Regions from separate parts of the Homo sapiens genome. Here region 2 is linked to region 1. Evidence: promoter capture Hi-C in 16 types of primary human blood cells and fetal thymus (Javierre and others, 2016). All regions are on one chromosome and are shown on one strand. Each heading gives the region's core, a stretch centred on a gene start or on the middle of the fragment in contact. The rest is flanking DNA. Distances are from core to core; before and after follow the strand shown. Region 1 holds the start of AVPI1 (arginine vasopressin induced 1). Region 2 holds the start of ENTPD7 (ectonucleoside triphosphate diphosphohydrolase 7).

Region 1 (3,300 bases), core at 399-2,898:
CACACCAGCTTGGGCAACAGAGTGAGACTCTGTCTCAAAAATACAAAACAAAAAACCCTTTTAGCCACAGCACAACAACACTTACGCTGTTTTTGTGCAGAAGGACAGAGAGAGGAACTGGAGATCATGGGGTGAGGACAAATAGCTCCCAAGCATCCCCTTCACGCTGCAACAAGGAATTCACAAAGCCCCATGTGCTGGCTCTTCCCCTTCCCACCCACAACTTTTACAGAAGAAAAATCAAGCTTAAATGGATAAGAGGTCAGCTATGAAGTAAAAAGGAAGTCAGGGAGACCCAGGAGCCTTTCCTGAGCATTGCTGAACAAGTGCACAAACACTTCATCTTCCAAGGACAAAACAAGCATTTATCAGAGGCCTACTGGACACCCTGCCTCCACTCCTGCCCCCTCCAATCCAAGTTCCAAACTGCAGCCAGAGTGACCTTCTAAAAACACAAACTTGTCATGATGATGAAATTTGCAAAGTGCTGACTGACACTACTGGTACGTGGTAAGTACTATAAAATGCCCGTTACATAAACACAGTACATATAATGCCATTCCTTGTTTAAACCCCTCCAAGGATCACATGCAACCTTCTCTGCCTGCCTCTGCCTTCTACTTCCCACCGTGCTCTCTCTTGCTAGCCTTACTCCGGGTCGCATTTAATTCCTCCGGAGCCAAGCTACCTCCTGGCCCAACCAAATGCCTTTCCCTCTTTCCTTAAAGCAGTCTCCCCAGATCCACTCCTCTTCATTTGACCAGTTTCAACTCCTTCTTTATATCTCAGCTTAAATGCTGCTTCTTCAGCCCTCCTGAACCTCCCAGAGGAAGCTTAGGTTCCTCCATATTTATCCTCTTATAGCCATAACATTGATCACAACTGTAATCACATACTCCATGTTTTAGGTTGTTTAATGCCTGCCTCCCTTACTAGGCTGTAGACTCCCCAGGACAAGGGCTATAGGTCTTTCCGTCTCTCTTGTTTACGGCCTATCAAGGAACTCGGACAGCATAGGTCACTAATGAACATTTCCGAATGCATACAAACTTTAAAATACGGTCTTGTTTAGGTAACCGGCCCAAAGTCGCACAAATGACCCAATATTTGAACCCACGACATTCTGGCTTTGAAGCCCAAGGTCTGACTCCAGCAGACTGCCCCCTCCTCTCCCTCAAAGCCGGAGCCAAACGGTGGGCTGGGAGGGGACTTGAGCGGCAGAGTCTGAGGATCTGCAGAGGGCCACGCGCTGCAAGGCAGTCAGTGCCGCGCGCGCTGGCCTCGGGCCCAGGAGAAGGGGCATCCGTCACGTGTACCCGGCAGGGCCAGCTTTCGCCGCACCCTGGGGCAGGAATGCAGCCCCGCCCAGCTCCCGCGCCAGCAAAACCGCGCTGGCCCTGGGGACTGACGTCAATGAAGGGGGCGCCTCGGGCGCCGCGCGGGGGCGGAGAGGGCGGTGGGCAGGGCCCGGGCAGACACGCCCCCTCACCGCCGCTCCGCCGCCGATTAGGTTTGAGGAAGCTTCGCACTCCGCTTTCGAGGCCAGCGGAGGCGGGGGGCGGGGATGGACACGCCCCCTCCCTGTCTCCCACCGATGATTGGCGCACGGAACTCCGCCTTGGGTTTGGAAGGCTCGCCTGGGAGCTCATACCTGGCTAGGGCCGAGGATTGGCTGTTCCGGGGCTAGGGAGCGCTTTCTCCCGGGAACCGCGGCTGTGACCCAAGTGGCCCGGACCAGTTTGGGGCTGCGTGCGGCCTGCCTCAAGCAACCAGGTACGTAGGTCGGCGGCCCAGCTCGGCGCTGCGGTGGGAGCCGGAGGGCGACAGTCAGAGCCGGGGTGCCAGCGGGACGCGACCGCCAGATCCACTTAGGACCCCGTCGTTCTGCGAAGCGGCCACGTCTGAGTCCCGGGGCCTCCTCGTGCTGCAGATGTCGCCTTAGGACCTCGGCCAGGATACCCTCTGCCATGCTCTTGTGCTGCCCGTGATCACCGACTGGCCCTTGTAAGCACCTTCGCAGAGCTGCGCCTGCCCTTTCTGAAGGCTGTGGAAGAGGTTGGAGTGGGCGCATCTTAGCTTGCCCCATCCCCATTTGAGGTCTGTCGGAGCTGCCCTTCAGTGTGGTGAGTACCTGCTCCAATTCTCCACCGGGCAGTGGAGTGCAGAGGGTACAGAGGCTAGCTTGGGAGTCCTGACTTTGGATCCCTCCCTGCTCCTTCCACAATCTACAGAAGCAGATAGCCTCCGAAAGGCTTCTGGGACCGACCTTCCCCAGAAGACCTCCTCAGCCATCTGGCAGGAACAAAAATAACAGTGGCTTGAGAGCCCGGGTGCTGGGGTCAGACTGCCTGGGTTCATGTCCCAGCTTCCATCACCTGCCAGCTGTGTGACTTTGGGTGTAGCTTTCTCATCTGTAAAATGGGTATAACAATAGTGCCACCTTAAGTGAGGAGGAAAGAAAGCACCCATCTGAACGTGCTCTGTTCTGCGCTTGACACTGAACAAGCTGCCTCTATGATTTTAATCATAAAGCTATGATTTAAAAGTACACAGATTTGTTGATGGCTGTGATGATGAAAATGACAATGATTCTATAGCCCCTGGTAGTCAAACAGCCTTTCCCTTCATCATTTATTCATTCAACCAGCATGCATAGAATGTCTGTGGTATACCAGGTACTAGAAGGAATGCCGTCACAAACTTAATCTCCCTTTTCCTGTTAAGAGTTATTTATACTCACCATTTATTTTAAAAAGCTTATTTAAAATTTTATAGAGGCAGTCTTGCTATGTTGACCAGGCTGGTCTGGAACTCCTGGGCTCAAGCAATCCTCCCACCTCAGCCTCCCAAAGTGCTGGGATTACAGGCGTGAGCCACCAGGCCTGGCCTTATACTATTTTGATGACGAGCAACTTGTGGCAGGGGAAACTGAGACTTATCCAAGGTCACCCAGTTAGCAGCACAGCCAGAATTCAGGGTTCTAGAAATCTTGAAAGGGTTATCCCTAGATCTAGTAGCAGTTTATTTCCAGGTCATATATGAGAACTGGTCTGGGGAAAGGGCCCAGTTCCTTTCTCCACCTCCAGGGGCATGGATTTGGAGGCCAATGTATATCCAGTTGTCTCGGCATACCTCCCTGAGGCTAGGCCCTGCTGGTGGGGAAGCCCACACAGCGATTTGAACTGGGCTTCCCATTTGAGGAGCCACAGATTTTGGCTGCTGTCCAGTGGCATGTCTGTATAGGATAGCAGGCCAGGGTCCCAAGTGTTGATTCAGGCCTTGGGCCAGAGCCTCCAGTAA
Region 2 (3,076 bases), core at 161-2,660, 2.0 Mb before region 1:
ATGGAGTCTTGCTCTGTTGCCCAGGCTGGAGTGTAGTAGCGCAATCTCAGCTCACTGCAACCTCCACCTCCTGGGTTCAAGCGATTCTTCTCCCTCAGCCTCCCCAGTAGCTGGGATTACAGGTGACTGCCACCACACCCGGCTAATTTTCGTATTTTTAGTAGAGACCGGGTTTCTACTTGGCCAGGCTGGTCCTGAACTCCTGACCTCAGGTGATCTGCCTGCCTTGGCCTCCCAAAGTGCTGGGATTACAGGCGTGAGCTACTGCACCTGGCCGTTGCTGTGTATCTTTCCAGGGATATTCTACGGATACACAAGCATAAATATACACCAATATATTTACAGTAATATATCTCTGTGTGTGTGTGTGTGTGTGTGTGTGTGTGTGTGTGCGTATCCATTCCCTCGGTTTTACACAAATGGTAGTCCACCATACCTGCTGTTCTGCATCTTTCCCCCACTTTATTTTATAACTTTCCCTTATTGGTGCATGTAGATCCACATTAATATTTTTTAAAAGCTTCAGGTTATTATAATGTATGGATAAGTGTATTCATCTGTGAAGTTCACTTTGTATATTGATTCAAAAGGACCTCGGTCTGTCTGCTTTTAAAGTTCACTGCAAACAAAAAACAAAAAAACTTCTTTGTTTAACCTCCTCAAGTGGCACCTAGCCTTGCTCAGATGCGAATCTGAATCAATGTTACAACCTTGCACTTTACAGAGCTGAGCAAGCCGACTCACTCTACCACTCCTGGTCTATGGGCTAGAAACTATTATTTATCAGCCCTCGAAATAATACAACTTTGATCGTCTCTGCATCCAACTAACCAGAATACAAAGTCCAAGTGCAGCTCCAGGGCAAACCTCACTTGGGACAGCCTCCCAGGGCCCCCCAACCTGCCTGCCATCCTCTGCCGTGCTCCCAGCCGGAGGGAAAGTGTGCAGCCTTACCTAGCCATGGGTTCCCTTCGGTGGTCTCAACGCCTGTCACCTTCTTTTTCTTTTGCCCTGAGAAGGTGGCCTCCTTGTCCCAGGCATCTCCTACGTCTGCAGCCTAGAAAGATTTGATTTCAGGCTTCTGTCCGACTGAGCCCACGAGACAAACCTGCACGGGAATTCCACGGCTCCCACCTCCTCCCCAGGCTCCCGCTCCGTCTGCTCTGGTTCCTCAGGCCCAGGGGACCCTACCCGGGCATCCTGGGAGCGGGGCGTTCTCGTGGGCCAGCTCTGTCCTCTAGGAACCGGTCGTCCCCAGGTGGCGGGGTGTGGGTCCCGCTTCCTCTCCCCGTCCCTCCGGGTCCCACAGCCCTCTCGCGCCCACACTCACGGGATCAAGCGGCCCGCCGGTTCCTTCGGCACCTCTCGGTTCAGTCCCGAGCTGCTCCCCGCGGCCCCTTGCCCAGCCGGAAGGAGGGCCCGGCCGGCGGCGGCGCCACGTCCCCAAGGAAACCGCAGGGAGCCAATGACTGACAGAAGACTCACGGAGGGGCCGGCTCTCCACGAGCCGAACCGGGGGCGAACCAGCTCGGTCAGCAGCACGTCCGTCCGCCAGGGTGGCCAATCCCCTAGAGCGCTCGGCCTCTGATGCCCGCCCCGGGACTTTGAGCCGCGCCCAATCGGAAAGGCGTCGTACCGAGGCTCCGCCTGCAGGGCCCGCGGAGAGCTCACAGGTGAGTGGCGCTGGGCGGCCCTGTGCCCGCTTCCCTCCCTGGGGCGCGAACTCTCGGCTGGTTGCTTTCTCCACGGCCGCTCCTGGGACAGAGTAGCTCCGGTAGGTGGGTTCAGGGTGTTCGCGACCGAAGCGCATCCCTTGCCCATAACCTATTGTTGGTTTTGTGCCCACTGACCCTCCCTACCAGAATGGCAGTTCTCTCACCTTAAACCTTCCCTATCACCTCCCAAACTGATGCCCCGACCTCACTGTCTTGCCCCGTGAGAAAACAGAAATCGAAGACAATGACGTTTACACCAAAGTGCTTATGTCCATTCATTCATTCATTGAATGTCTGCTTATGCCAGTCATCATGAATTTCTGTGTCGCCGCCCTCCTTGACCTTACAGTAACACAAAGGAAACGACGCGCGCGCGTGGGTGTGTGTGTGTTTCTTTCTTGCTTACACCAGCCGTTATCTCATTTCCAGGAGGACGGCATAAAGTCCAAGCTCTTTCCAACGTGGCACATCCATTGCGCCCCACGATCCGCCCTACCGCCGTCCTCTGCCGCTACTTGCCTTCCTTACCACGCTCCAGCAACGCGTCCTGTTTTGCTCATTCTGCCCCTCCACCTGCCTTGAATAACCGTCCCAGCCTCTTAGCCAAATCACCTCCTACTCATCCCTTACCACCCATCTTAAGGGTCGCCTTCCCCTAAAAGCCCTACTTGACCTACTACACCTTTTTTATACATGCCTATTGTTTCACTTAGCACGTTGAATTACTATTATACGTATATGTCTGTCTGTCTGTCCCACTAGACAGAATATCCTTGAAGGCAGGGACTATTTGCTTCCACATATTCCCAATACTGGCCACTGCCTGGCAGATAAAACACAACTAATGTATAATTAATAAGCAAATGAATGAATGGGGGGGATCGGGGAGGAAGACCACCCAAATGCTTTATTTATTCAAAGCTTACTATGACAAGGGAGTCAGTCACCATCACTTGCATTTGGCCGACTCAAAGCCTGTCAGGACATTAGGAAAACTACTTACTTACTTAATTACCTACAGGGTCTCACTCTGTTGTCATCCAGGCTGGAGTGCAGTGGTGCGATCGTGGTTCACTGCAGCCTCGACCTCCTGAGCAAGCGATCCTCCCACCTCAACCTCCTGAGTAGCTGGCTCTACAGGCACGTGCCACCATGCCCAGCTTATTTTTTTTTAATTCTTTGTAGAGATGGAGTCTCACTATGTTGTCCAGGCTGGTCTTGAACTCCTGGGCTCAAGCAGTCTTCCTGTCTCAGCCTCCCAAAGTGCTGGGATTACAGGGATGAGCAGCTGCACCTGGCCAGGAAAGCTTAGTAGTGAACAAAAAGGGAAGGTTTCATGTATACTCTGACTTGAGGGTATT

What was found. Contacts are between HindIII fragments. The CHiCAGO score rates a contact against its expected background, and 5 or more counts as called.
Region 2: the fragment with the promoter of ENTPD7 here is called in contact with the fragment with the promoter of AVPI1 in region 1 in 1 of 17 cell types (non-activated CD4 T cells); the score reaches 5.9 in non-activated CD4 T cells.

Annotation. Positions count from the first base shown.
Region 1 is chr10:97,685,589-97,688,888 of GRCh38, reverse strand. AVPI1 (arginine vasopressin induced 1) reads left to right here and starts at 1,648. Exons shown (of 3, transcript NM_021732.3): 1 at 1,648-2,123. RefSeq lists enhancers at 604-1,557, 625-1,824, 1,558-2,511 and a silencer at 1,282-1,661. The HindIII fragment of the contact is 1,235 bases long and covers 1,524-2,758 here.
Region 2 is chr10:99,657,843-99,660,918 of GRCh38, reverse strand. ENTPD7 (ectonucleoside triphosphate diphosphohydrolase 7) reads right to left here and starts at 1,410. Exons shown (of 13, transcript NM_020354.5): 1 at 1,331-1,410; 2 at 955-1,057. The coding sequence starts at 962. It also overlaps a transcript of SLC25A28 not described here. RefSeq lists silencers at 1,182-1,401, 1,522-1,731. The HindIII fragment of the contact is 2,116 bases long and covers 523-2,638 here.